Linked DNA regions of Homo sapiens: regions 1, 2 and 4 are each linked to region 3. Evidence: promoter capture Hi-C in human tissues and cell types (Jung and others, 2019). All regions are on one chromosome and are shown on one strand. Each heading gives the region's core, a stretch centred on a gene start or on the middle of the fragment in contact. The rest is flanking DNA. Distances are from core to core; before and after follow the strand shown. Region 1 overlaps TOP6BL (TOP6B like initiator of meiotic double strand breaks). Region 2 holds the start of BRMS1 (BRMS1 transcriptional repressor and anoikis regulator). Region 3 holds the start of CCDC87 (coiled-coil domain containing 87). Region 4 overlaps TOP6BL (TOP6B like initiator of meiotic double strand breaks).

The links. Contacts are between HindIII fragments. The study calls those that stand out against the background at their distance.
Region 1: a fragment that was not itself captured here is called in contact with the fragment with the promoter of CCDC87 in region 3 in 1 of the 25 tissues and cell types used here (hippocampus).
Region 2: a contact is called between a fragment that was not itself captured here and the fragment with the promoter of CCDC87 in region 3, in 2 of the 25 tissues and cell types used here (dorsolateral prefrontal cortex and pancreas).
Region 4: a fragment that was not itself captured here is called in contact with the fragment with the promoter of CCDC87 in region 3 in 1 of the 25 tissues and cell types used here (IMR-90 fibroblasts).

Annotation. Positions count from the first base shown.
Region 1 is chr11:66,750,189-66,757,198 of GRCh38, reverse strand. All of the region lies in intron 1 of TOP6BL (TOP6B like initiator of meiotic double strand breaks), which reads right to left. Among named protein-coding and RNA genes, the nearest start is that of TOP6BL, 8.9 kb to the right of the region's middle. The HindIII fragment of the contact is 4,704 bases long and covers 1-4,592 here.
Region 2 is chr11:66,337,952-66,345,602 of GRCh38, reverse strand. It overlaps BRMS1 (BRMS1 transcriptional repressor and anoikis regulator), which reads left to right and starts at 499. Exons shown (of 10, transcript NM_015399.4): 1 at 499-631; 2 at 3,362-3,507; 3 at 3,980-4,070; 4 at 4,270-4,397; 5 at 4,557-4,636; 6 at 4,733-4,829; 7 at 5,390-5,482; 8 at 6,818-6,882; 9 at 7,321-7,360. The coding sequence starts at 3,369. It overlaps B4GAT1 (beta-1,4-glucuronyltransferase 1), which reads left to right. Exons shown (of 2, transcript NM_006876.3): 2 at 1-229. RefSeq lists enhancers at 324-753, 209-759. The HindIII fragment of the contact is 3,306 bases long and covers 584-3,889 here.
Region 3 is chr11:66,587,315-66,594,423 of GRCh38, reverse strand. CCDC87 (coiled-coil domain containing 87) reads left to right here and starts at 1,361. Exons shown (of 1, transcript NM_018219.3): 1 at 1,361-4,248. The coding sequence starts at 1,409. The coding sequence ends at 3,958. CCS (copper chaperone for superoxide dismutase) reads right to left here and starts at 1,239. Exons shown (of 8, transcript NM_005125.2): 1 at 1,124-1,239; 2 at 710-782. The coding sequence starts at 1,162. RefSeq lists enhancers at 1,375-1,464, 1,495-1,604, 1,775-1,834, 1,397-1,985, 1,986-2,575. The HindIII fragment of the contact is 7,748 bases long and covers 1-3,176 here.
Region 4 is chr11:66,805,780-66,813,640 of GRCh38, reverse strand. The region is part of intron 7 of TOP6BL (TOP6B like initiator of meiotic double strand breaks); the gene reads right to left. Among named protein-coding and RNA genes, the nearest start is that of RCE1, 34 kb to the left of the region's middle. RefSeq lists an enhancer at 280-1,063. The HindIII fragment of the contact is 9,286 bases long and covers 1,913-7,861 here.

The DNA of each region.
Region 1 (7,010 bases), core at 991-3,490, 160 kb before region 3:
ACTAATTTTTGTATTTTTAGTAGAGACGAAGTTTCACTATGTTGGGCGGGCTGGTCTCGAACTCCTGACCTCAAGCAATCCACCCGCCTCAGCCTCCCAAAGTGCTGGGATTACAGGTATGAGCCACAGTGCCTGCACCCGCCCCCACCCCCCACCGCCGCCTCCGCCCTTTATAAAGACCATCTTATGGCCAGGCATGGTGGTTCACACCTGTAATCCCAGCACTTTGGGAGGCTGAGGTGGGTAGATATTTTGAGCTCAGGAATTCAAGACCAGCCTGGGTAATATCACAAAACCCCATCTCCACAAAAAATACAAAAATTAGCAGGTCATGATGGCACACACCTGTAGTCCAGCTATTCAGGAGGCTGAGGTGGGAAGATCAGCTGAGCCCAGGAAACAGAGGTTGTAGTGAGCCGTGATGGCACCACTGCACTCCACCCTTGGCAACACAGAGCAAGACCCCATCTCAGAAAAAAATTTTGTTTACATTGTTTTAAAAAGATAATCTTCTGTTCTATAGAGGGGATTTGGGGGAATGCTTGCTTTAAAATATGTATTTTACAGATAAGTCTCTACTGTCATCTTTGCATCTGGAGGATAGAATTTTATCGTTTTTATATAAAAGCATTGGAAATATAACTGAAAATTGAGGGCTGGATAGGATGTGGAGCAGGTGGAAGCACTCCTCACCCATAATTAGCCAGGCATGGTGGTGGGCATCTGTAATCCCAGCTACTCGGGGGACTGAGGCATGAGAATCACTTGAACCTGGGAGGTGGAGGTTGCAGTGAGCCGAGACTGCGCCACTGCACTCCGGCCTGGGTAACAGAGTGAGACTCCATCCTGAGAAAAAAAAAAGGGGGGAAAAGGGGGTTAACTGTATGTAGCATTTCCCAAACAGTATGTTTCATAGTCCACACTGGCACATGAGAGGTCCTGAACAGACCTATAGTTTAAAAACTTATTTTAACTAACATTTCCCAAATTTAAATGACTACATAACTCCTTTCTTATAACTCATATAAATATTCTGTGGCATACATTTTGGGAAACATCATGAAAATCATATTTGTTAAAGCCTTCAATAATTACTGATGGAAAAAACTAATTATCTCTTGGCTTCTGATAGATGAATCATCTCAGATATCAAATTTGCTAGTCTGTTGTGGGTTGAACTATGTCCCCCAAAAGATAGTTTTAAGTACTAGCCCCAGTGTATATGACCTTATTTGGAAATAGATGCCAGCAAGTTAAGACAAGGTCATACTGGATTAGGGTGTTCCTGAGTCCATTGACTGGTGTACTTATAAGAAGGCCATGTGAAGAAAGAGAGAAATACAGAGGAGAATGCCATGTGAAGGCAGGGAGTGATACACCTACAATCTAAGAAATACCAAGGATTGTCAGCAATCACCAGAAGCTAGGAGAGAGGCATGGAACAGATTTCTGAGTCTCCAGAGCAAACCAACCATACCAAGACCTTGATTTTGGACTTCTAGCCTCCAGAACTGTGAGAAAATAAATATATTTTGTTTCAAGCCATCCAGTTTGTGGTACTTTGTTACAGCAGCCCTAGAGAGCAGAGATTTCAAACCAAATTTAAAAGATACCACTGCACACTTCCAGGTAAAGACAGCCGATTGAACACACACGTTTATTTTCATTCCCTCCTGAAACCTCAATAAAATAATAGAAAAGAGATTTATAAGGGCACAAACCCACAAGGATGGAAAACAAGAGACAAACATGATTGTAATAAAAATCTAGACACTACAGGCTAGGCACAGTGGCTCATGCCTGTAATCCCAGCACTTTGGGAGACCAAGGCAGGTGGATCACCTGAGGTTAGGAGTTCGACACCAGCCTGGCCAACATAGTGAAACCCCGTTTCTACTAAAAATACAAAAATTAGCCAGGCATGGTGGCACACACCTGTAGGCCCAGCTACTCAGGAGGCTGAGGCAGGAGAACCTCTTGAACCCAGGAGGCGGAGGTTGAAGTGAGCTGATATCACACCACTGCACCTCCAGCCTGGGCAACAGAGTGAGACTCTATATCAAAAAAAAAAAAAAAATCTAGAAACTACAAAGCAGAACGACTAGTAGGAAAGGATTTAGGAGACCTGAGTAATCTAAGTATAAGGGGACAGGGAAGGCCAAGAAACAACCTGATTTATATAATAAAATTGCAAAACACTCAGGCATGGCAGTATCAGGAACCTCTGAATGTATGGGTGAGGTAGAAGATAAATTAAGGAGAGTCTGTTGAAAAATGAATTTAAATAAATCTTTAGATTCCCTCCTCCACTCAGCATTCAAGGGACTGGCTCCTCCCTAACTTTGGTGTGGATTGGGGAGAAGATACTTGAAAATGGTCAAGGTGTCAATCTTTGGGACGAGAATCAAAATTGTACTAAAAACAAGTGGAGTTAGTGAACAGAACCCCTGAATGCTGAGATACCCAATACCCCCTTTTCTCTCTCATTCCCAGAATCAAGTCTGGCTTTTACCCACTTGGTAAGAGACTGAAAGATCTGGTCATTCCAAGAGCAAAGACCTAAAGATATTGATATTGAAGAGAAGAGAAAGTTCCCCAGTTAAAAGCCCAATTAGATCACCTTTTAGTGATGCTAAAATTTCAAATCAGCTTTATAGTCTCTAACTCTTAAAAATGAGCAACCAGTAATTTTAAGATATTTGAAGAAAGCTTCTAACATGAAAACAGACACCAGACTAAGAAAAGCAATACAAGGGAAACAAGAACGAGGTGGAGAAAAGAAAACTTTAAAAAAATCTTTATATACTCAAAAAGATAATGCCTAGAAAGTAGAAGAGATAAAAATTATGAGAGAAACGATTTTAAAAAGGAAAAAGAACCAGTCTAGGAAGTCTAATATCTAAATAATAGAAGTTGCAGAAAGGGGGGAAAGAAAAGAGAGAATGCAAGGGAAAATCTCCCAGAACCAAAGAACAAGGGTTTCCAGGTTTAAAAGTCTTGCTGAGTGCTGAGCACAATGTTTGAAAACACACCCACACCCAGGTGCATCATTGTGACAATGGAGACCACAGCAGAGACTGCTGGTGCTCGCAAACAAATACCCCATTCTCCTTCTTCCTGAACACATAATCTGACTACGTTTTTCAGTCTTCCTTGCAACTGCAGGGCTGTGGCAATAAGACTAAGTCCTGGTTGGCCAGGCGTGGTGGCTCATGCCTGTAATCCCAGCACTTTGGGAGGCTGAGCTGGGCGTATCACCTGATGTCAGGAGTTCGAGACCAGCCTAGCCAACATGGTGAAACTCTGTCTCTACTAAAAATATAAAAATTAGCTGGGTGTGGTGGCAGACACCTGTAATCCCAGCTACTGAGGAGGCTGAGGCAGGAGAATCACTTGAACCTGGGAGGTGGAGGTTGCAGTGAGCCGAGATCATGCCACTGCATTCCAGCCTGGGCAACAGAATGAGACTCTGTCTTAAAAAACATAAAAACATGGCCGGGCGCGGTGGCTCACGCCTGTAATGCCAGCACTTTGGGAGGCCAAGGCAGGTGGATCACGAGGTCAGGAGATAGAGACCATCCTGGCTAACACGGTGAAAACCCGTCTCTACTAAAAATACAAAAAATTAGCCGGGCGTGGTGGCAGGCACCTATAGTCCCAGCTACTCGGGAGGCTGAGGCAGGAGAATGGCGTGAACCCAGGGGGTGGAGCTTGCAGTGAGCAGAGATCATGCCACTGCACTCCAGCCTGGGTGACAGAGTGAGACTCTGTCTCAAAAAAAAAAAAAAAAAAGACTAAGTCCTGGCCAATAGAACGTGAGCAGCAGTAACATACCAATTCCCGAGCCTACCCCATAAAAGTCTTCCATTTATAAGCTCTGCTCTCTTTCCCCATCCTTAGCTGGAGAGAACTTAGAGGACTTAGAGAAGGATACACCCGCAAGACAGAGATAGCATAAAACAAAATACTTGCCTGCTTGCCTGCATACACACACATTCATCTGACTGTGAAATACAAGAAAACTAAACATTTTATGTGTTAAGCCACTGATATATATATATTTTTTTTTGGAGACGGAGTCTCACTCTGTCACCCAGGCTGGAATGCAGTGGTGTGATCTTGGCTCACTGCAACCTCCGCCTCCCAGGTTCAAGCAATTCTCCTGCCTCAGCCTCTGGAGTAGCTAGGACTACAGCCGCATACTGCCACACCTGGCTAATTTTTTGTATTTTAGTAGAGATGGGGTTTCACCGTGTCGCCCAGGCTGGTCTCAAACTCCTGAGCTCAGGCAATCCGCTGGCCTCACCCTCCCAAAGTGCTAGCATTATAGGCGTGAGCCACCGCGCCTGGCCAAGCCACTGAGATTTTAGGGTTTGTTATAGCACCTACCCTTATTTACTGTAATTAATACAAGGATAAAGAGAAGATTCTAAAAGCTTACAGAGAGGCCGGGAACGGTGGCTCATGCTTGTAATCGCAGCACTTTGGGAGGCTGAGGTGGGTGGATCGCTTGAGGTCAGGAGTTCGAGACCAGCCGAGCCAACATGATGAAACCCTATCTCTATGAAAAATACAAAAATTAGCCAGGCATGGTGGTGTAACGCCTGTAATCCCAGCTACTCAGGAGGCTGAGGCAGGAGAATCACTTGAACCCGGGAGGCGGAGGTTGCAGTAAGTCGAGATCATGCCACTACACTCCACCCTGGGTGACAGAGTGAAACTCCATCTCAAAAAAATAAAAATGAAAGCTTACACAGAGGGGAAGAAAAAAGAAAAAACAGGTCACATACAGAGTAATCAGAAAGATTTTTAGATTTTTCAATAGCAACACCTTAAGTTAGAAAATAATGCTGCAATGTCATCAAAATTCTGAAGGAAAAATGAATTCTGGCTTAGAATCCTATATGGCCAAACTATCAATTAGGTATACGTGGAGATGTTTTCAGAGATGTAAGGTCTCAAGAAATTTACCTTCCAAACACTCTTTCCAAGGAAGCTACTGGAGCCTGAGATCCATCAAAGCAAGGAGTAAGCCAAGTAAAAAAAAAAAAAAAAAGAGAGAGAGGGATTCAGGAAGCACAAAATCCAATGCAAGAGAAAAACTACAGAAACACTCTGAATAATGATGAAGGGAAGATTCCAAGGTAACAGCTGTGCACCAGATACAGAAAGCATCAAGTCAAAATTAGAGCAGGTCAGGATACACTGGAAAAGAGTTTTTCAGGAGGATGAAACTGATATATTATCTGATGTACTGGAATATATTGAGTAGATTTAGACAAATGCTGGAAGTTTGCGAGTTGACTAGATGATAAAAACAGAAAATAAAATAAGTATTAACTGAAGGGAAATTATAAAGAAAAGTAATCATAGTTTTCTATATGGCTAAACTGCATTTTATGGTCATGATGAGTAAATATTGATCTACGTGGTTGGAAAATTATAACTATATTAAAAGAAAGACACATGGTAGAGGTGAAGATATTAAAGAGAGCCATCATCCTCTATGGTGGAAAATCAATAAATGCCTATAAAAAGGAAAATTAAGATATAACAATTTAGGGCTGAGCACAATGGCTCATGCTTATAATTCGAGCAGTTTGGGAGGCTGAGGCAGGTGGATCGCTTGAGTCCAGGACTTCAAGACCAGCCTGGGCAACATAGGGAGACCTCATCTCTATAAAAAAAAAAAAAAAAAAATTAGTCAGCCAGGCACGGTGGCTCACGCCTATAATCCCAACACTTTGGGAGGCTGAGGTGGGTGGATCACGAGGTCAAGAGATCGAGACCATCCTGGCCAACGTAGTGAAACCTGGTCTCTACTAAAAATACAAAAATTAGCTGGGCGTGGTGGTGCACACCTGTGGTCCTAGCTACTTGGGAGGCTGAGAAAGGAGAATCGCTTGAATCTGGGAGGCAGAGGTTGCAGCCAGCCGAGATCCTGGCGCCACTGCACTCCAACCTGGTGACAGAGTGAGACTCTGCCTCAAAAAACAAAAACAAAACAAAACAAAAATTAGTCAGGCATGGTAGCACATGCCTGTAGTCCCAGCTACTCAGGAGGCTGAGGTGGGAGGATCACCTGAGCTCAGGGGGTCAAGGCTGCAGTGAGCAGTGATTGCACCACTGCAGTCCAGCCTGGGTGACAGAGTAAGACCCTGTCTCTAAATTAATAAATAAATAAATAACATCTTGGCCAGGCGTGGTGGCTAACACCTGCAATCCCAGCACTTTGGGAGGCCAAAGTGAGAGGACTGCTTGAGCCCAGGGGTTTCAGACCAGCCTGGGCAACATAGCAAGAGACCCTGTCTCTAGAAAAATACAAAAATAAAACAACCAGGCATGGTAGCACATGCCTGTAGTCCTAGCTACTCAGGAGGCTGAGTTAGGAGGATCATTTGAGCCCAGGCATTTAAGGTTACAGTGAGCTATGATTGTGCCACTGCACTCCAGCCTGGGTGACAGAGTGAGACCATATTTGGGGGAAAAAAAAAAGATACAACAACACAAACATGTTACTTAGATCAAAGATAAATATTAAATAATCAATTAACAGAGTTAAAAGTATTAGCCTCTAGGAGGGAGAAAGATGGGAAGGGAGAGATGGGGGAAGCACGCAGGGTACTGTCGGGTTTTTTGTTTGTTTGTTTTGAGATGGAGTCTCACTCTGTCACCCAGGCTGGAGTGCAGTGGTGCGATCTTGGCTCACTGCAACCTCTGTCCTCCCAGGTTCAAGTGATTCTCATGCCTCAGCCTCCCGAGTAGCTGGGATTACAGGTGTGTGCCACCACAACCCGCTAATTTTTATATTTTTAGTAGAGACAGGGTTTCTCCATTTTGGACAGCTGATCTCGAACCCCTGACCTCATGTGATCTGCCCACCTCAGACTCCCAAAGTGCTGGTGTTACAGGCATGAGCCACTACACCCAGCCAAAACCATATGTGTGTGTAACTGACAAAAACTAAAACTAAATAAGTGTACATTTTTTTACAAAAAAAATGAAATAGA
Region 2 (7,651 bases), core at 987-3,486, 250 kb after region 3:
AAATGGACTTTTTGGAAAGAAATCAGATGAAGGCATAAAATTTAGTTCTTAGCTCTTGAACAGAAGCCTAAAATTCCTGGTTCTCTCAGGGCTTCGCCTTCAAGGGTTCTGGAGGAGGGAAGGGTCTGCAGGTTCCATGGGTGACAGCCTGAGATCTGTCCCTTCAACGGGCTGGGCTGGGTATGTGCCTACCGATGACAATGTGTAAATAAATGCGTGTTCACACCCACAGCTGGCTCCGTTACTCTCCTGAGCTGGGGGTGGGGGGATCGGGGCCGGCTTCTCCCCTTGCACGCCGTGGGGAGATGGCCGCGGACGAAGGGCACCGTCTGCAAAGCACTGAACCATCAGGGCCTTCCCTGCAGGCCGAAGGCCTGCGCGAATGTCGGCCAGTTACTATGGAGACCGGCCCGCGGTATCCCAGCATGCCTCGGGACCAAACTGTCCAACTGTGAGCATCCCCGACGGTCGCCTCCTGATGACGCACACGGAAGCACCGATAGGCTCTGCCTCCCGAAGAAAAGGGAGCCGCGCAGCGCCTACGGGAGTCCGGCGGCAGCAGCCGGTACCGGCAACCACGGGCAGCTCTCAGGGAATCTCCGTCGTGAGGCCAGAGGCTCCAGTCCCCGCGGTGCGTATCGTCATGCATGGCTTTTGGTTCGCCCTCTCCGGTTAGTCGAGCAGGGCCGGCACAACCTCCTCCTCCGAGGCCGAAGCAGAGATTTAACCGGCCTGACGCGTGCTGGGCTGCGGGCGAGCCAGTGATATTCCGGCCCGCTCCGGCGCATCTAGAAGGGAGCGGGAGGCCCCCTGGGCGCTGCGGAGAAGCTGGATTGACCTCTGCGAGAGTGGGGAGGGTCTGCCTTCCCTAGGGGCCTGCCCCGGAGGAGCTGCCATTCTGAAAAGATAAATTGCCTGTGTACAGCGCTTTACAGTGTGCTTTTCCATCCCTTACCACCTGTGAGCTCCTCAACACTCAGAGCAGGAATGGTTATCCGCTTTTTGCACCCGGGGTAAGGTGGGAAGGTTGTGACTTAACTCACTCATAATCAGAACCAGGGGGAGGAAAGAAAGGCTTCTGGAAGAGATAGACTTAAGCTGCATCTTACAAAGTGAATATACTAACAGTGAAGAGGCATTGCAAATGTTGGGAACTGAGGCTTGATAACGGGAAGATGAAGCTGGTTTAGAGAACCGAGCCTTTCAAGTCAGGTGCAGGTCATTAGTGAAATTGTTGAGGAATATGACTAAACACTCACCTAGGCCAGGCTTACTATACACAACTTGAACTGGTGTCAAGGAAAGCTTGCTACCATTACAGGGACCTGGGACTACCGAAAAGTAAAAACTAATGTCTGTCTCACAAAAAATTTTTTTGTTAAATTTGTATTTGCAAATCCTCCAGTCATCAAGTGAACCAGCACTGTGCTAGGTAAATAAGTTACATGTGCAGCCCCTGCCCTAGTGAGGCTCATAGACTGATTGCGGGGACAGATATGAGAACAGGCAAATAGATATAAACAAAGCTTCCTGGAGGGAGTGGTGTCTGCACTGTTCTAAAGGACTACAAAGCAGTGTCCAGAGAAGTTGGAAGAACACAATAAAATAGAAGCCTGCAGGAGGTTGAGAGATTATCTGCTGAGAGGACTGTTTTCTTCTTCTTAGGTGATCTCTTGGCAGTACTTGGCACTATCAGTGCAATTACTCCTTGGCAGTACTTGGCTTTCTTCTAAAACTCTTTCTCCACCACTTCGGGTTTTGCCTCCTCCTTTGTAGGGGTCTCCTCATCTGCCCCTTTGGTGACCCTGGGCGTCTTCTGATCGCACACATTGTGCCTTGCTGGTTGCACCTTCTCCTGTGGCATGAAGAACTTGCTGTATGCTGACGACCAAATCCCTGCAGCTCAGATTTCTCACTGAGACTTAGACCCATGTTCCCCCAGCTGCTTTCCTTCTCTTATTTCTGGGTCTTTGCTACTGACTCTACCTGGAATGTTCCCTCAATAAGTGCAGCTCACCCAGCTGGTCCATCTTTGTCTGGAAGCCTCCCTGCTGCATCGGGCTCCAGGTCCTGGTTATATACCCCTCCCTTATGCCCCTGGTCTTAACTCTCCTCCTATCATGGTTATAGTGTGCTCCTTTGCCCCTGTCTCCCAGGAACTTGTAAACTCCGTGAGGTCAAAGACATTCACACTTGGGCGCCTGCATACCATAGCGTCTGACGGTACCTAGCATATGTTAGATGTTCAATACATGTTAGATGAGTCAGTAAAAGAAGGAATGCTTACCAGTGTTGGATGTTGCCGAGCAGACAATTAAAATAAGCACTGAAAAATATTGGCATTAGCCACAAGGAAGTCATTGGTTAATGCTACGGGATCAGTTTCAGCTGAGATTGAGGACATCGAACAAGTGGGAGGTGAAAGTAGGAACAGCCAGTGTTCATGAGACCTTGAAAAGTGTAACTGTGAAGTGGCAAATGGAGCAGTTAGGTGGAATGGGTGAGGTTTTGTGTTTCTGTGTTTTGTTAATGCTAGGAAGTACCCAAGCACATCCAAAGTTTCATGGGAAGGAGGTTGCTAAGAGTTAGAAGCTGAAGACACAGAAAAGAGAGGGGAGCACTGATGACCTGCGGTCCAAGAGGAAGCAGAAGGAGATGGGATTTGACCCAGAGCACAATGAAAGACAAGGAGATTGTAACATTATCTGGAAGAGAAGCCGAGGACATTATAGGCAGAAGGAACAGCTGAGGCAGAGGGTGGATAGTGGAAGTGCAAGCACTAGCCATTATATGTTGGGATGAAGGAGCTGGACCGGTAGGTCAAGTCCAGTCTGGGAAAGACCTTGAAAGCCCCAGTTAGAAATTTAGGTCCAGTTTGGGTGTGGTGCGGGCGCCTGTAATCTCACTACTCAGGAGGCTGAGGCAGGAGAATCGCTTGAACCCAGGAGGAGGAGGTTGCAGTGAGCTGAGATCGTGCCACTGCACTCCAGCTTGTCAACAGAGCGAGACTCTGTCTCAAAAAATAATAAGAAGAAAAGAAATTTAGGTCCAGTTGCAAAGGCAGTGGAGAGTGCCCCCTGGGCCTTTCCTTTCTGTGGATCACAGCCTTGGCCAGTATTGCTAGGATTAGGATCACCAGTGACATCCAAGAGCAGGAGCAGTTCCACAGCTCCCAGCCTTCTGTGAGAGGTGCAGATGGCCATTTGCACCCTTGTCACCCAGTTTGTGCTCAAGGTGTGGCCAGGCCAGTTACTTCCCTGGCTTTCCCCATCTGGGATCGAGTTGTGTTCAGCATCCTGCTGCCTCTTTCCCCCTCTGAGCTGTGGGCAGCCATAAGTGATAGCTCCATTCCTTCTCCCAGAGTCCAGATGCCTGTCCAGCCTCCAAGCAAAGACACAGAAGAGATGGAAGCAGAGGGTGATTCTGCTGCTGAGATGAATGGGGAGGAGGAAGAGAGTGAGGAGGAGCGGAGCGGCAGCCAGACAGAGTCAGAAGAGGAGAGCTCCGGTGAGCCCCTACACACACAGACACACACACACACACACAGAGCCCCTACACACACACATGCACACACACAGCCCCTACACACAAGCATGCACGCACATGCACATACAGCGCCTACACACAAGCACATACACAGACCCTGCACACAAGCGCACACACGCACACACAGCCCCTACACACAAGCACGCACACACAGCCCCTACACACAAGCACGTATGCACACACACAGCCCCTTCACACAAGTACACGTGCACACAGCCCCTTCACACAAGCACGCACGCATATGCACACACAGCCCCTACACACAAGCACACACGCACACACACAGCCCCTTCACACAAGCATGTACGCGCACACACACACAGGCCCTACACACAGGCATGCATGCACACACACACATGCAGGACGCACATGCACACATGCGGGTACCCACCACTCCTCCCCAGAGCTAGCCCTTACTGGCCTCTTGTCCCAGAGATGGATGATGAGGACTATGAGCGACGCCGCAGCGAGTGTGTCAGTGAGATGCTGGACCTAGAGAAGCAGTTCTCGGAGCTAAAGGAGAAGTGAGCGTGGGGACACCTTGGGCTGGGTCTGCGAGGATCTGGGATGAGGAGGTGGTGGGCCTGGTACTGGGCAGGCGTGGTTGGTGCCCAGGAAGTGCGCGCCTAACACCGGGCTTGCTGTGGAATGGGTGCTGGGTATGTGTTTGCCCAAGAGCGATGGGTGAGCAAATGGGTGCACGGCTGCCTTTTTACCACGCAGGTTGTTCAGGGAACGACTGAGTCAGCTGCGGTTGCGGCTGGAGGAAGTGGGGGCTGAGAGAGCCCCTGAATACACGGAGCCCCTTGGGGGGCTGCAGCGGAGCCTCAAGATTCGCATTCAGGTGGCAGGTCTGTGGGTGGTTCTGTACCCTCTTCCCCTCCCAGAACCCGTGGCACCCTGTCCCCTTCCTCTCTCGTTCCTGCCCGGCCTTGCCCTTTGCTCTCAGCCCTCCTATGTGGGCACCGGGCTCCCCAGCCAAGCAGGGACCCTCCTCCCTTTCTCTGCAGGGATCTACAAGGGCTTCTGTCTGGATGTGATCAGGAATAAGTACGAATGTGAGCTGCAGGGAGCCAAACAGCACCTGGAGGTGGGCCTGATTGGGCACACTGGGGGTGAGGCAGGGCACAAAGCCTGAAGTGGCCTCACCCCATCCGTCCTGCTGAGCTATTGCCCCCTCTTCCAGAGTGAGAAGCTGCTGCTCTATGACACGCTGCAGGGGGAGCTGCAGGAGCGGATCCAGAGGCTGGAGGAGGACCGCCAGAGCCTGGACCTCAGCTCTGGTAAGCGCGAGAGCCTGGGCACCCCGGAACTGGGCCCCGCTCAGTCCACGCCCACCCCTCTTTGGGCTTCAGATGTCCTGAAGTCAAGGGGACAGCCAGAGGACCTGCCTGTTGGGGTCAGTGTGAGGGCTGAAGGAGACCAGGCCTGGAAAGGGCCTGGCACATAATGGGGGCTCAAGCAGAGTGGGTCTCCCTGCCTCTTCTGCCCCTGCTCTTTCCAAAACAGGTATCAGTGTGACATGCAGTCACATGCAATAGCTCTAGTCCCCTCCATGTTCATAGTACCTGTGTTCACGTGGAGTCCTGGGGTGGCAGGAATTGTCGTCATCCCACTCTCCACTAAACAGATGAGGCTCACAGAAGTGCAGTGACCTCTTCCCAGGGTTGTGCAGCTGTGCAGGCAGGACCTGAACAGCCCTAAGGGGCTTCTACCCCAAGCCCAGGGTGGTGATGGGACAGGGGAGATGAGGCCAGGCCGGCCCATGGTGGAGGCAGAGGCTACAGAAAAGGGAGTATCCTGTGGGCCAGCACCCCAATTCTAACTCTGGGTCTCGGGGCAGAATGGTGGGATGACAAACTGCACGCCAGAGGCAGCTCCAGGTCTTGGGACTCCCTGCCGCCCAGCAAGAGGAAGAAGGCACCTCTGGTTTCTGGTATCCTTTCACCCAAGGTGGCCTAAAAGTGGGCAGGATGTAAGGGTCAACTCCAGACCCAGGGGAGGGGGTTGGAGGGGACATGGAGGACAGTCACACTAGATGCACTCGTGGTTGCTTGGTGTCATGTGAATATGTCCAGGCAAATCCAGCTGTCAGCAGTTTCTTACGGGGTCCTGGGTCTCTCTGGGCTATGTGAACCCTAGGAAAACAGAAACGGGCTGGGCTCCGTGGCTCACATCTACAGTCCCAGCACTTTGGGAGGCCAAGGCGGGTAGATTGCTCGGGCCCAGGAGTTCTTTTCGAGACCAGCTTGGGCAACATGGTGAAACCCATCTCTAGAAAAAATAACAAAAATTAGCCAGGCGTGGTGGTGTGCACCTATAGTCCCAGCTACTCTGAAGGCTGAGGTAAGAGGATTGCTTGAGCCTGAGAGATCAAGGCTGCAGTGAGCCGTGATGGTGCCACTGCACTTGAGCCTGAGTGAGGTTTGGCCTTTGAGGCCTTTCCATCTCCCGGGGTTGTCCGAGCGGGTCCCCAGCTTTCCCTGGGGAGCCTTTGCTCATATCCCACCCTCCTCTTGGAAGTCCTGCCTGTCCCGACTGTCCAGGGCTCATCTCAAACGTTACCTCCTCTGTGAGGCCTCTTCTGGTCTTACCCTGGTGCCTATGGCTTCACTTTCCTGTGTGCTTCTGTGCCCTACCATGGGGTACCCACATCCCAGAGGGCACTGGCTGCCTCCACCCCTTCCTAGGCAGGGCTAGCTTAAGCTTAGTCCAGGGCCTGCTGTGCTTTCATCTGTCCTGGCAGAGCTGAGTCCTCCTGCACCCCTGAGGGTATTCCTGCAGCAGCCAGTCTTAGTCATTATGGCAACCTGGTGCTGGAGAGCAGGCCCAGGCAGGGAGGGAGGAATCTGGAAGGCCATGACTTGAGTGAATGGAAGGTGAAGGCATGGAGACATCAAGTAGGGAGCACTGGGGGAGGGAGAGTTGTCTCTGAAGGGATAAGCCCTGCGTCTGTCTTTGGATCAGGGAAGGGGCCAGGTTAGGGCCAGTGCTGCAGAGTGAGATGGGATGGGCCTCAGCCAGCTGACCTAAGACGAGGTGAGGGTGAGCAAGGGACAGGGAACAACATTTGGTGTCCTCCATAGACTTGGTTCCAGGACGACCCCTGGAACCAGGGGGTTAAGAGGTAGGAGGTGGAACCTGACCTCGGACCCAGGTCCTCAGCTCCCACTCCATGCTGTCCGCTGTACCCCCACTCCTGAATGTCAGGTGGGTGGCCCTGCCCTCGTCACCTGCCACCTCCACTAGGCTTCCTTGACCCCCACCACAGGCCCATACATCGTGTACATGCTTCAAGAGATCGACATCCTGGAGGACTGGACAGCCATCAAAAAGGTGGGGGCCGCTGCTGCCCACGTGACCTGCCCCACCTCAGGGCCCCCCACCCTGGCAGCAGCTCTGCCATCTGCAGGCCTGGGAGTTCTCTGCTCACCAAGGCTTCCCCATCTTCAGCCCAGAGTCCCTGGATCGCAGTTGGCTCACAAGTCCTCTTGCTCAAGGCGGCCCTGGGAAAAGGGATTTCTAGTCTGTGTCAGCCCCTTCCCGTTCTGGGGCAGGTTTTGATGGGGTGGGAGGGTGGCGGGGAGGCGGGAGAGCCGCTGAGCTGGCCAGCAGTCAGGAGCATGGGAGCTCTGCCTGGGTGGGGCCTATGCTCCCGGTCCTGGGGGCACAGCACTGAGGCAACAGCCCACAAGCCACAGAGGTGGGGGGTGGGGCAGGGATTGCCAAGCTGGAGGTGGGCTCTCAGGGGAGCTTTTCTTCTCACCCACCCAGGCTAGGGCAGCTGTGTCCCCTCAGAAGAGAAAATCGGATGGTAAGAACCATGGCTGTTGCATGGCCTTCCCTGCCCCCTTGCCATCACCTTTCCTCAGCTCAGCTTCCAGGAAGGAGCCCAGAGAAAGGCTGTGACTGTGTCAGAATCAGTGGCTCAAGAAAGTTAGGATGGTCTAGATTTGAGGGGCTTGTGGGAGTTTGAGGAGCAGGAACCAGGATGGGGCTGGGGAAGCTCTGGGTTGATGGAGCTCCCACTCAGGAGGGGTCAGGGAGGGCTGTGGAGCTGCCCAGGAGGCCTGTTCTGGGCCAGCCCAAAGCCACTCAGTAAGTG
Region 3 (7,109 bases), core at 112-2,611:
TCTTTCTCATTGTGCCAGGTCACCTCCAGACCAGCTGGCCTTTTATTTATTATTATTATTTTTTTGAGACGGAGTCTCACTCTGTTGCCCAGGCTAGAGTGCAGTGGCGCGATCTCGGCTAACTGCAAGCTCCGCCTCCCGGGTTCACGCCATTCTCCTGCCTCTGCCTCCCAAGTAGCTGGGACTACAGGCGCCCACCACCACGCCCGGCTAATTTTTTGTATTTTTTAGTAGAGACAGGATTTAACTGTGTTAGCCAGGATGGTCTCGATCTCCTGACCTGGTGATCCACCCACCTCGGCCTCCCAAAGTGCTGGGATTACAGGCATGAGCCACCACACCCAGTGGTATAGAAAGCTACCCAGGATGGTATAGGGCCTGAGCTGCTGTTTGCTTTGTCAAGATTATGTTGTTTCCCAAGCAAAAACTGCCTGTTTTCCCAGGAACTCCCTCAGCCTAGCTCCTCAGTCTCTGGGGCACCTGAGGTTCAGGACAACAAGACAGGCAGTTAGAATCTGTCAGGGCAAGCTGGACAGCTGTACTCTAGGCTCTGCCTCCAGGTCTGTGTGTAACTCTGAGAACATGCCTTTCACTCTCTGGGGTTCACTTTCTGCATCTGTAAAATGGGAGTAGGGTTCGCCTAATAGATTCGCCTGGTCCCTCCCAGAGGCTTCTGGACTGTCTGCAGAAAAGTTTACCCTGTTCTTACCTGCCACCCCTTGCAGGGATTTGCGCACCGCGTCCACACAGCTCTGACAGGTCATCTGCACCGCGAACTCCAACTGCAAGGGCGGCAGGGACCAACCGATGATCGCTGGGGAAGTGCCTTGGTATGACTTTGTTTCACCACCTACCCTATGACCACCGCAAGGGTCTGGGAACAAGCCCCACTTAACCCCTCTTCAAGCACCTTCTTCATGATCTCTCATGACCATTCCAGGACCATGGGAGTCACCCCCCAACACTCACGCAGGGCCCCTGCTACCCTCGCACCCTAGTTTCATCCCATGGCCCCAGGCCCCAACCCAAGTGCCCACTCCTTCTCCTCTTCCCAAGGTAACGATCATCCCAGGGGCCGAGGCTCTCTGCCCGGCGAGGCTCCACACGAAGCCTCGACCCTCACCGTGCAGAGGGTCCCCTGGTTCCCCGAATCCGAAGCCATTCTGGACCCAGTCACCACCCCGAGACGCAGAACTCCTCCGGCGCAGGAGCACCAACCAGCGCGGCGTCGCGGGGACTGAGCCTCTAAAGCCACCCTTAACTCCTCCTCCTAGTGCGTGCGCACGCAAGGCCCTGCTTCGTCAGCCACCGGGTGGCGGCCGCGCAGGCGCACTCGGGCCGTCGGGCTCCTGGTTGCCTTAGTAACCCCTCGGCTTTCTGTTCCTGGACGGTGGCGGCCGCCGGCTCTATGATGGAGCCCCCGAAGCCCGAGCCTGAGCTCCAGCGGTTTTACCACCGGCTGCTGCGTCCGCTGTCGCTCTTCCCCACTAGGACGACGTCCCCAGAGCCTCAGAAGCGCCCCCCGCAGGAGGGCCGGATTCTGCAGTCCTTCCCTCTGGCGAAGCTGACGGTGGCGTCGCTGTGCAGCCAGGTGGCCAAGCTGCTGGCCGGCAGCGGGATAGCAGCGGGAGTGCCTCCTGAGGCCCGACTACGTCTCATCAAGGTCATCCTGGACGAGCTGAAGTGCAGCTGGCGGGAGCCGCCCGCCGAACTTAGTCTGAGCCACAAAAACAACCAGAAGCTGCGGAAGCGGCTCGAGGCCTACGTGCTGCTGAGCAGCGAGCAGCTCTTCTTGCGCTACCTGCACCTGCTGGTGACCATGTCGACTCCCAGGGGGGTCTTCACTGAATCAGCCACCCTCACCCGGTTGGCCGCCAGCCTCGCCAGGGACTGCACACTCTTCCTTACTAGTCCCAACGTCTACCGTGGCCTGCTTGCCGACTTCCAGGCCCTGCTGAGGGCAGAGCAGGCCTCTGGGGATGTGGACAAGCTGCACCCTGTCTGCCCCGCTGGGACGTTCAAGCTGTGCCCTATCCCCTGGCCTCACAGCACTGGCTTCGCCCAAGTGCAGTGCTCTAACCTCAACCTGAACTACCTCATCCAACTCAGCCGTCCACCAGAGTTTCTCAATGAGCCAGGAAGGATGGATCCAGTGAAGGAATTGAAGTCCATCCCTCGGTTGAAGAGGAAAAAGCCTTTCCACTGGCTGCCCTCCATAGGAAAGAAGAGAGAAATCGACATCAGTTCCTCACAGATGGTGTCGCTGCCCAGCTATCCTGTGGCCCCCACCAGCAGGGCTTCCCCCTCGCCTTTCTGCCCTGAGCTCCGGAGAGGCCAATCCATGCCCTCCCTGCGTGAGGGCTGGAGGCTGGCAGATGAGTTGGGCCTTCCTCCACTCCCATCTCGCCCCTTAACCCCGCTGGTCTTGGCTACAGAGAGCAAACCAGAGCTGACTGGGCTCATCGTGGCTGAGGATCTGAAGCAGTTGATAAAGAAGATGAAGTTGGAGGGGACTCGCTACCCACCACTGGACTCAGGCCTGCCTCCTCTCCTGGGGGTTGTGACCCGTCACCCAGCTGCAGGGCATCGCCTGGAGGAGCTGGAGAAGATGTTGAGGAACCTCCAGGAGGAAGAAGCCTCTGGGCAGTGGGACCCCCAGCCCCCCAAATCCTTTCCACTTCACCCACAGCCAGTGACCATTACTTTGAAGCTTAGAAATGAGGTCGTGGTCCAGGCGGCTGCCGTACGGGTCTCTGATAGAAACTTCTTAGACTCTTTCCACATTGAGGGGGCCGGAGCCCTGTATAACCATCTGGCTGGTGAACTGGATCCCAAAGCCATTGAAAAAATGGATATTGATAACTTTGTTGGCAGTACTACCAGGGAGGTCTACAAGGAGTTGATGAGCCATGTCTCTTCTGACCACTTACATTTTGATCAAGGGCCCCTAGTTGAGCCTGCAGCAGATAAAGACTGGTCGACCTTCCTGTCCTCAGCCTTTCTACGTCAAGAAAAACAGCCTCAAATCATCAACCCTGAGCTGGTTGGACTTTACTCCCAGAGAGCAAACACTTTACAGTCCAATACTAAGAAGATGCCCTCCCTCCCATCACTCCAAGCTACCAAAAGCTGGGAGAAGTGGTCAAACAAGGCCTCCTTGATGAACTCATGGAAAACCACCTTGTCTGTGGATGACTACTTCAAGTACCTCACCAACCATGAAACAGATTTCCTTCATGTCATCTTTCAAATGCATGAAGAAGAGGTTCCTGTGGAGATTGTGGCCCCTGCCAGAGAGTCCCTAGAGATTCAGCACCCTCCCCCATTGCTAGAAGATGAAGAACCAGACTTTGTGCCAGGAGAGTGGGATTGGAACACTGTGCTAGAGCACAGGCTAGGAGCTGGGAAGACACCCCACCTGGGAGAACCCCACAAAATTCTGAGCCTGCAGAAGCATCTGGAACAACTGTGGTCTGTGCTTGAGGTCCCTGACAAGGACCAGGTGGACATGACCATTAAATATAGCTCCAAAGCCCGCCTGAGGCAGCTGCCTTCATTGGTGAATGCCTGGGAGCGGGCCCTGAAGCCCATTCAGCTGCGGGAGGCATTGCTGGCGAGACTAGAGTGGTTTGAGGGACAAGCTTCCAATCCCAACCGCTTCTTCAAAAAGACCAACTTGAGCTCCAGTCACTTCCTGGAGGAGAATCAGGTCCGAAGCCATCTCCACAGGAAGCTCAACTTAATGGAGTCTTCTTTGGTTTCCCTCCTGGAGGAGATAGAGTTAATCTTTGGCGAGCCAGTGATCTTCAAGGGGCGGCCCTACCTGGACAAGATGAAGAGTGACAAAGTGGAGATGCTCTATTGGCTGCAACAGCAGCGGCGGGTTCGCCACCTGGTCTCGGCCCTGAAGGATCCCCACCAGTCAACCCTGTTCAGGAGCTCAGCAGCCAGCCTTTAGTAGCTCCTGGGAATACCCCTATTACTCCTTGACCAGGCCCAGTGCCCTCAAATGCCTCCCTCACCCCTAAATGGCCAGCAGCTCATCTAGACCTCTTTACTGCTTTGGAAGAAGAAATATTTGTCTATATCTGGGAGTGGAGGGTTCAGGAACATTATGCTTCCAACTATGAAGGGATTGAGACTAAAACTATTGTTTTCTTAGTGAAATTCTCATGAAAGAATCCCCAAGCCTAGTAGTCCCATTATGTCAAGCCTTGCACAATACAAGCCAAATCTCCTATATCAAAAGAACTGAGACCTTGGAGTTAATTGTAGTGGGAAGGGTCAGAGGCAAAGGTGATCTTTGGAACAACTCACTTTAGCATTCCTATCACACTACATTAAATTGTCACCTCTTTTAGTTCTCAAACACTATTAGGAAGAAGAAAATTAATTAAATTTTTACCAGTTACGTGCACATGGTACAAAGTATACCAGGATGTGTACTGAAAAGTAAGCCTTCCCATACCCACCTCCAATGTCTGTTTCGTGCTGTGGGGATAAGTGTTACAATTTTTAAATTTAATTTAATTTTTATTTATGTATTTATTTATTTTTTGAGACAGAGTCTCACTCTGTTGCCCAGGCTAGAATGCAGTGGTACAATCTCAGCTCACTGCAACCTCTGCCTCCCTGGTTCAAGCGATTCTCCTGCCTCGGCCTCCTGAGTAGCTGGGATTACAGGCGCCTGCCACCACGCATGGCTCATTTTTGTATTTTTAGTAGAGATAGGGTTTCACCACGTTGGCCAGGCTGGTCTCAAACTCCTGAGCTCAGGCGATCCACCTGCCTCAACCTCCAAAAGTGCTGGGATTACAGGTATGAGCTACAGCACCTGGATTTTTTTTTTTTTTTCAATTTTAGAGATGGGGTCTTGCTCTGTTGCCCAAGCTGGAGTGCAGTGGCCTGATCATAGCTCACTGCAGCTTGAACTCTTGGGCTCAAGCAATCCTCCTGCCTCAGCCTCCTAAGTAGCTGGGACTACAGCTGCTCACCACTGCACCTGGCTAATTTTTTGAGTTTCTTAAAAAAAAAACAAATATATATATATACACACACACATACACACACATATATATGTGTGTGTGTATATATATATGTGTGTATATATATATATTTTTTCTTTTGAGAGGGAGTCTCGCTCTGTCGCCCAGGCTGGAGTACAGTGGCGCAATCTCGGCTCACTGCAAGTTCCGCCTCCTGGGTTCATGCCATTCTCCTGCCTCAGCCTCCTGAATAGCTGGGACTACAGGTGCCCACCATCACGGTCAGCTAATTTTTTTTTATTTTTAGTAGAGACGGGGTTTCACTTTGTTTTTTAATTTATTTTTTTATTGATAATTCTTGGGTGTTTCTCACAGAGGGGGATTTGGCAGGGTCATGGGACAACAGTGGAGGGAAGGTCAGCAGATAAACAAGTGAACAAAGGTCTCTGGTTTTCCTAGGCAGAGGACCCTGCGGCCTTCCGCAGTGTTTGTGTCCCTGATTACTTGAGATTAGGGATTGGTGATGACTCTTAACGAGCATGCTGCCTTCAAGCATCTGTTTAACAAAGCACATCTTGCACCGCCCTTAATCCATTTAACCCTGAGTGGACACAGCACATGTTTCAGAGAGCACAGGGTTGGGGGTAAGGTCACAGATCAACAGGATCCCAAGGCAGAAGAATTTTTCTTAGTGCAGAACAAAATGAAAAGTCTCCCATGTCTACTTCTTTCTACACAGACACGGCAACCATCCGATTTCTCAATCTTTTCCCCACCTTTCCCGCCTTTCTATTCCACAAAGCTGCCATTGTCATCCTGGCCCGTTCTCAATGAGCTGTTGGGTACACCTCCCAGACGGGGTGGTGGCCGGGCAGAGGGGCTCCTCACTTCCCAGTAGGGGCGGCCGGGCAGAGGCGCCCCTCACCTCCCGGATGGCGCGGCTGGCTGGGCGGGGGGCTGACCCCCCACCTCCCTCCCGGACGGGGCGGCTGGCCGGGCAGAGGGGCTCCTCACTTCCCAGTAGGGGCGGCCGGGCAGAGGCGCCCCTCACCTCCCGGACGGGGCGGCTGGCCGGGCGGGGGGCTGACCCCCCCACCTCCCTCCCGGACGGGGTGGCTGGCCGGGCGGGGGGCTGACCACCCCACCTCCCTCCCGGACTGGGCGGCTGGCAGGGCGGGGGGCTGACCCCCCCACCTCCCTCCCGGACTGGGCGGCTGGCCGGGCGGGGGGCTGACCCCCCCACCTCCCTCCCAGACGGGGCGACTGGCCGGGCAGAGGGGCTCCTCACTTCCCAGTAGGGGCGGCCGGGCAGAGGCACCCCCTCACCTCCCGGATGGGGCGGCTGGCCGGGCGGGGGGCTGACCCCCCCACCTCCCTCCCAGATGGGGTGGCTGGCCGGGCTGAGGGGCTCCTCACTTCCCAGTAGGGGCGGCCGGGCAGAGGTGCCCCTCACCTCCCGGACGGGGCGGCTGGCCGGGCGGGGGGCTGACCCCCCCACCTCCCTCCCGGACGGGGCGGCTGGCCGGGCGGGGGGCTGACCCCCCACCTCCCTCCCGGACGGGGTGGCTGCCGGGCGGAGGGGCTCCTCACTTCCCAGATGGGGTGGCTGCCGGGCGGAGAGGCTCCTCACTTCTCAGACGGGGCAGCTGCCGGGCGGAGGGGCTCCTCACTTCTCAGACGGGGTGGTTGCCAGGCAGAGGGTCTCCTCACTTCTCAGACGGGGTGGCCGGGCAGAGACGCTCCTCACCTCCCAGACGGGGTCGCGGCCGGGCAGAGGTGCTCCTCACATCCCAGATGGGGCCGCGGGGCAGAGGCACTCCCCACATCTCAGACGATGGGCGGCCGGGCAGAGACGCTCCTCACTTCCTAGATGTGATGGCGGCTGGGAAGAGGCGCTCCTCACTTCCTAGATGGGATGGCGGCTGGGAAGAGGCGCTCCTCACTTTCCAGACTGGGCAGCCAGGCAGAGGGGCTCCTCACATCCCAGACGATGGGCGGCCAGGCAGAGACACTCCTCACTTCCCAGACGGGGTGGCGGCCGGGCAGAGGCTGCAATCTCGGCACTTTAGGAGGCCAAGGCAGGCGGCTGGGAGGTGTAGGTTGTAGCGAGCCGAGATCACGCCA
Region 4 (7,861 bases), core at 5,306-7,805, 210 kb before region 3:
TTGCCTCAGCCTCCCAAGTAGCTGGGATTACAGGTGCATGCCACTATGCCTGACTAATTTTTGTATTTTTAGTAGAGACGGGGTTTCACCATGTTGGCCAGGATGGTCTCGATCTCTTGACCTCGTGATCTGCCCACCTCGGCCTCCCAAAGTGCTGGGATTACAGGCGTGAGCCATCATGCCCAGCCTATGCAGTTACATATTAAGCCTTTTCCACACTGAAGACAGATGTGAGGCACCAGAGATAGATCCACTAGGATCCCCAGAAATTTATTCTGGGTTTAATAAGTGTGAGCTACAGATATAATATTAAGACAGTTTATTTATTCATCCGGTTCACATGGTCATAGATTTGAAAGGCACCACAGGTTAACATTGTTTTAAGTTCTAAGTTCTTGGGGTACAAAGACAAATATCCAGATAATACCTGTCCTCAAGTTTATCATATTTACAACATGGGAGACAGACATAAAAGCCGGTAAGCTGTAATACAATGTGATACATGCTAGAAGTATATACAAGAGAATATCTTCTAGGAAGTATTTGAGTATACTTAGATTGAGAAGGAAACTTCCTCGGATTGTCTCCAAACCTATTATCTAAAACAAAGGAAGGCATGCCCCTGAAATGGTTTCTATCTCTGAACTTCCCATTCCCACTCTCACCCTACCTGTAACCCAGGGTTTCTTAACCTCTGCACTAGTGACACTTTGGGCCAGATAATTCTTCACTGCGGTGGGCAGTCCTGTGCACTATAGGATGTTTAGCAGAATCCCTGGCCTCTAGCCACCAAATGCCAGTAGCACCCTTCTTACGTTACCCCCTCCATGACAATAAAAAACGTCTCCAGACATTGTCAAATGTCCTTTAAGGACAAAATTACCCCATTAAGAACCACTGCTTAACCTTTCTTGTCCCCTGAACCAAGGCCAGAGACCAGAATGTGTGCTTTCCTTTATCTTTCATTCGTTTTCATCCTCTTTCTTATGGGGTAAACACAAGGTATTGTGAAGATTAAAATTCCTACCCAGTGGGCACTGAGGCATTATGGAAAGGCTTTATACCCATAAATGAAGTCTCCCTCACAAATCTCAGAAGGCATTAACACATGAACTAAGGCTGACTCACTGTTTAGGGCAAGGGGATTTTTAAGATGCAAACTCAGGGCCAGGCGCGGTGGCTCACACCTATAATCCCAGCACTTTGGGAGGCTGAGGTGGGCGGATCATGAGGTCAGGAGATTGAGACCATCCTGGCTAACACGGTGAAACCCCGTCTCTACTAAAAATACAAAAAATTAGCCGGGCGTAGTGGCGGGCGCCTGTAGTCCCAGCTACTAGGGAGGCTGAGCCAGAAGAATGGCGTGAACCCGGGAGGCAGAGCTTACAGTGAGCCGAGATTGCGCCACTGCACTCCAGCCTGGGCGACAGAGCCAGACTCCGTCTCAAAAAAAAAGATGCAAACTCAGAATAAGAGGGGAGTGTTTGAGGAGCCAAGATGTGCAGTTGTCTTATAATTGGGTTGTTTAAATCATTTACTTGTAATATGAAGATAGCTATAGTGGAGTTTAAATCCATCATCTTTTTTCCATTTCTTGCTTGTATTCTTTGTTTCCTTTTTCCTCTTTTCTATTTTTGGATTAGAAATTGTTTTTTACATTTTAAAAAGTGTTTTCTCTCTCTCCCCACCCTTTTATAAGACACAAGGTCTCATTCTGTTGCTCAGACTGGAGTGCAATGATGTGATCATAGCTCACTGCAGCCTCAAATTCCTGTGCTCAAGCGAGCCTCTCTCTGCATCAGCCTCCAAGGTAGTTGGGACTACAGGTGAGAGCCACCATGCCTGCCAGGAATTTTTTATAACTCCATTTTATCTCCTTTTTAAGTTATTAGTTATAACTGTTGCATTAAACCAGGGATTGCCAGGCTTTATTAGTATACAACTTTAACTTATCACAGTCTACCTTCAAATGATATTATAACAATTCATATAAAGTTTAAGAATCCAACAATATACTTCCACTTCTCTCCTCTTGGCCTTTGTGCTATTGTCACAGGTTTTATTTCCATAGATGTTATAAACCTTATACATTATATTTTTGCAGATCCATGATCAATGAACCCTAAGCATAAGAAATATGAAGAGTATAGGCTGGGCACAGTAGCTCATGCCTGTAGTCCCAGCACTTTGGGAGGCCAAGGCAGGCGGATCACTTGAGGTCAGGAGTTCGAGACCAGCCTGGCCAACATGGCGAAACCCTGTCTCTATTAAAAATACGAAAATTAGCTGGCCATGGTGGTGGGCACATGTAGTCCCAGCTACTCGGGAGGCTGAAATGGCAGAGATAGAAATCATTTCAGGGGCCTGATTGATTGAACTCAGGAGGCAGAGGTTGCAGTAAGCTGAGATCACACCACTGCACTCCAGCCTGGGCAACAGAGTGAGACTCCATCTCAAAAAAAAGAAATATGAAGAACATAGAAAATGATAGCAAGATATGTCACACACACACATGCAAAATTAGCCAGGTATGGTGGTGTACACCTGTAGTCCTAGCCACTCAGGAGGCTGAAGTGGGAAGGTCACACGAGCTTAGGAGTTCAAGGCTGCAGTGAGCTAAGATCAAGCCACTGCACTCCAGCCTGGGAAACAGCAAGACCCTGTCTCTACATAAATGAATAAAGCCTCAGTGAACTGCAGGATAACTTTAGGTGGCCTAATTCAGGAATGTGTAATTGGAGCCTGAAGGGAGAGACTTCAAGACTTGTTTTTTAAAGATTTTTTTTTTTCTGGTAAGGTACTTGTGAAAGGAAAATTAAAACTCAAGACCCCAAATCACTATGCCAAAAGGAAATAATTTAGCTGAAAGCTGAGTCATGCAAGAAGCTGTCTCTCCTTTTGTTCCTAAGCAGATAGCTACAGATAAAGGGTTAAATACCTCTACAGGTAGCTACTGTAATGTTCACCTTCTATTATATAAAGGGCCACTTTACTGAGCACAAGACAAATACATAATTGACTGTTCCCCTACTTGCTCCTTTTCTCTTGTAACATATGGATTCAATAATGTGATCATCCCCTCCATCTTTCCTCTCCAGCCTGCGTTTCCCCTTTAAATACTGAAGACCTCAAAACCATCTTTAGAGAAAGGCACAGACCTGTCTCCCAGGAACATCCTTAACCTTGGCAAAATAAACTTCTAAACTGATTGAAACCTGTCTTGGATGCTTTTTGGTTTATATACTCAAGAAGGATATTTTGTGTTTTTAAAAGGACAAAAGTATTTTGTATCTACCCGCATAGCCACCACTTCCAGTGCTCTTCCTTTTTTGGGTAGATTCAGAATTCCGTCTGGCAACATTTTTCTTCTACCTAAAAGATTTCTGTTAACATTTCTTATAATACAGGTCTTCTGGTGATAAATTCTTTCACCTTTTCTATGTCTGAAAAATTCTTCATTTTGCCTTTTTTCTCTCAGTACTTTATAAAGATGTTACCCCACTTTCTTCTAGCTAACACTGTTTCCAGTGAGAAATCTGCCATAATTATTTTGTTCCTCTATACATAATGTGTCTTATCTCCAGCTGCTTTTAAGATTTTTTTATTACTGGCTTCAAATACTTTGATTATGATGTGACTTGGTATAATTTTCTTCATATTTCTTACACTTAGGGTTCATTGATCATGAATCTGCAGGTTTATAGTTTTCATTAAATTTGGAAACTCGGGGGTGAGACCCTGTCTCTACAAAAAATAAAAATAAAAAAATTAGCCAGGCATGATGGTGCATGCTTGTAGTCCCAGCTACTCAGGAGAGGCTGAGGTAGGAGGACTGCTTAACCCCAGAAGTTCGAGGTTGCAGTGAGCTATGATCGCACAACTGCACTTTAGCCTGGGCAACAGAGTGAGATCCCTTTAAAAAAAATAGTTATTTCTCTGAATTTACACTCACATATCTTCTATCTGATGCTAAAAACTTTGGTTCCTAACATTGTTAACATAATTATTTATCATAAGTATGCATACAATAATTCCAATATAAAATACCAATATTATTACTAACAATCATGCCACTGAATAAATTTTAAGAGGTCTTTGGACTTCCATTTCATCCTTAGAGTATATCCTGCTAAGAACGTATAGTCAAAACACCATGTTCTAAAGTCTGTTGAATTAATTCTTCTTGTTACGTGGATTATAATTTTAACATAATATACAGGTAAGTTTATTACCTTTTATGTTGAGGAATATTTGGATTGGATATGAAATTCTAGGTTGGTAATGATTTTATTTCAAGACATTAACACTATTAGTCTAACACCTTCTGTTGGTATGGGGAAGTCAACTGTTAATTTATCTTTTAAAGATGATTTGTCCTCCTGACTGATTTTAAGATTCTTCTCTGTTTTTCATCTCTTTAGGTGTAGAAATCTTTTTTATTTATACTGCTTGATTATTCTGTTCTTAAATCTGTCTCAGCCATCCTGGCTAACACGGTGAAACCCCGTCTCTACTAAAAATACAAAAAATTAGCCTGGCGTGGTGGCGGGTGCCTGTAGTCCCAGCTACTTGGGAGGCTGAGGCAGGAGAATGGCATGAACCCGGGAGGCGGAGCTTGCAGTGAGCCAGATCGAGCCACTGCACTCCAGCCTGGGCGACGGAGCGAGACTCCGTCACACACACGCACACACACACACAAATCTGTCTCAGTTGTTTCAGCCATTAACTCTTTAAATATTGTTTCTGCCCTATTTTCTCTTCTCTCTTCTCTTTTTGGACATCAATTAAATATACATTAGACAGTTTTACTCTTTACTCTGTTAACCCCTCTCTTCTGTATTTTCCATAACTTGTCTCTTTGTTTTATTTTTGCTAAGTTCTTGCTATCTTTAGCTTTTAGTTTACAAATTCACTTAAGTTGTACTTAATCTGCTGTTAAACCAGTGTACTGAATTTTATTCAACATTGGTTATTATATTTCTTGATTCTACAATTTCTGTTTTGTTCTTGTTAAAAGGTATTTCATATTTTACAGTTTCAGTTTTCTAGTAAAATTTTCAAACTTTGCTTTCATTTTCATCAACATAGTAAGCATAATTTTTCATTTTTTTTTTTTTGAAACTGGTCTCACGTCACCCAGGCTGAAGGGCAATGGCACGATCATGGCTCACTGCAGTCCTGACCTCCTGTGCTCAAGCAATCTTCCCACTTCAGCCTCCTGAGTAGGTGGCACCACAGGCATGCACCACACATGCACAGGTAACTTGTATAGAGATGGGGGTCTCACTGTGTTTCCCAGGCTGATCTCGAACTTGCAGGCTCAAGCAATCCTCCTGCCTCAGCCTCCCAAAGTGCTGAGATTATAGGTGTGAACCACCACACCCAGCTAAGCATAACTTTTTAAAGTCAATATCTGATATCACCAGTATCTGGAGTCCCAGTGGGTGTTTCTGTGATTTTGTTTTTGCTAGCTCTTGTTCATATTATCTTGTCCTTTCTTACACCTGGTTATTTGTGACTGTGCATGTGTGTGTGCATATGCACCATGGGACACTGTATTTGAAAAAGTGTTAAATAATTGGGAGCACAGGATGCAGTTATTTTCCTCTAGAAATTTTTGTTTGCTTCTATAAAACATCTAGAACTAACAAATCTAAAATCATCCTAATCCAATTTCAAAGTTCAAGATTTTCTGGCCTGCCTAGATGACCAAAAAGCATATACAGTCCATGTGAAGAGTAATTTATTTCAGGTTCACCTTACTCCTTAAAATATAGCCTTCTAGTTATCCCTTGCCCAAGGCAAGAGGTGTTTTTAGCAGCACTCCCAAGCTCAGCAGGTCCTGGATTCTTTGGCCTTCTTGTCCTGCACTGATTTGGAAGTATTAATACATCTTAGCCTCTCAACTGCTTGCTCTAATTGGCAAACTGCTCCAGGGCAAAAGCATCCCCCAATGCTAGGCTCAGCTCTCTGTAATTCAAACCTCTCCTAAATCATGGCACAGAAACTCTTCCTCTTCACTAGCTCTTTGATGCTTTTATGATTTTTTTGTTTGTTTGTTTGTTTTTTGAGATGGAGTCTCACTCTTGTTGCCCAGGCTGGAGTGCAATGGCGCGATCTCGGCTCACCGCAACCACCGCCTCCCAGGTTCAAGAGATTCTCCTGCCTCAGCCTCCTGAGTAGCTGGGATTACAGGCATGCACAACCATGCCTGGTTAATTTTGTATTTTTAATAGAGACAGGGTTTCTCCATGTTGGTCAGGCTGGTCTCGAACTCCTGACCTCAGGTGATCCATCCACCTTGGCCTCCCAAAGTGCTGGGATTACAGGCGTGAGCCACCACACCCGGCCTGCTTTTATGATGTTTTAATATTTCATCTAGCCTTTGCCTTCATTGAGAAGGTTGGTCTAAATTATCAAGTTTGCCACTTTCAGAAAGTAAAATCTCAACAGAATTTTCATAGCTAGCTCTCTCTCTTTTTTAAAACATCACCTCCTTAGAGGCTTCACTGCCCATATTTAAAATAACATCTCCATCATTCTCTACTACTTTGTTCTATTTATCTCCACTGCACTTATCACTACCTAATATCTATCTGTTAAATTTTCCCCAAGAGGACAAAAAATTTGTCTGTCTTATCCCTTCTAGATGATGGAATGAGGAAGAAGAAGAAACTTATTTATTCTATACTGTTCTGTACTATCTAGATATAAAGAAAAAGCATGTTTTAAAATAGAAAATGTCCAAGCATAGTCTTCATCACTATCCTGCTCCCTCCACCTCCCTAAAAGATACTATGGTATCTTTTGATATCTGATATGCAACATCAGATAGCTGACATCTATCATACCACGCCTCTTCTGTTCTCTCTTTTTTTTTATTTTGAGACAGAGTCTTGCTCTGTCGCCCAGGCTGGAATGCAGTGCTCACTGCAACCTCTGCCTCCTGGGTTCAAGTAATTCTCCTGTCTCAGTCTCCCGAGTAGCTGGGACTACAGTCATGTGCCACCATGTCCAGCTAATTTTTGTATTTTTAATAGAGACAGGGTTTTGCCATGTTGGCCATGCTGGTCTCAAACTCCTGACCTCAAGTGCTCCGCCAGCTTCGGCCTCCCAAAGTGCTGGGATTACAGGCATGAGCCACCGTGTCCGGCCTGTTCTCATTGTTTATAATTTTCTATAACTTCATTTACTCCTATAGCTTCAATCATATGACAATAACAATTATTAATATTATTGAGTACTCATTATATGCTAGGAGCTTCACATGGATTATTATACTTAATTCTAAAACGAGCAAACAAACCCCAAAAGAACAGAAAACCAATTTTTGCAAGGGAAACTAAACCTATGAGATAAGTATCATCCTCATTTTAAAGCAGAGGAAGTAAAGGCTTAGGCTGGTTAAGTGAGTTGCCTACAGTCACACAGCTAATTAGTAGTGAATCCAACATTTACACTCCTGTGCCATGCTCTAAACACAGCACTACACGACTCTTACCTATGGAGGAAACTGAGACTCTAAAATTCTGTATCTCTAAATCTGACCATTTCCAAGTTCCAGACCAAATTCCTATATAGCTCCTTACTATGTTCAAAGGATGTCTTGAGACACCATAAACTCAACATGTTTAATGTCAAACTCATCTTCTTTATCTCCTAAATCTGCTATTAATGTTTTTTTATCTTGCTGAAAGTATCATTATTCTGTCAGTTATTCATGGAAATATTTTTAAATAGCTTTATTGAGATACAATTCACATACCATACAATTCACTCATTTTAAATGTGTAATAAAATGGATTTTAGAATATTCAAAGAGTTGTGCAGTCACTACCACCATCAATTTTAGAACACTTTC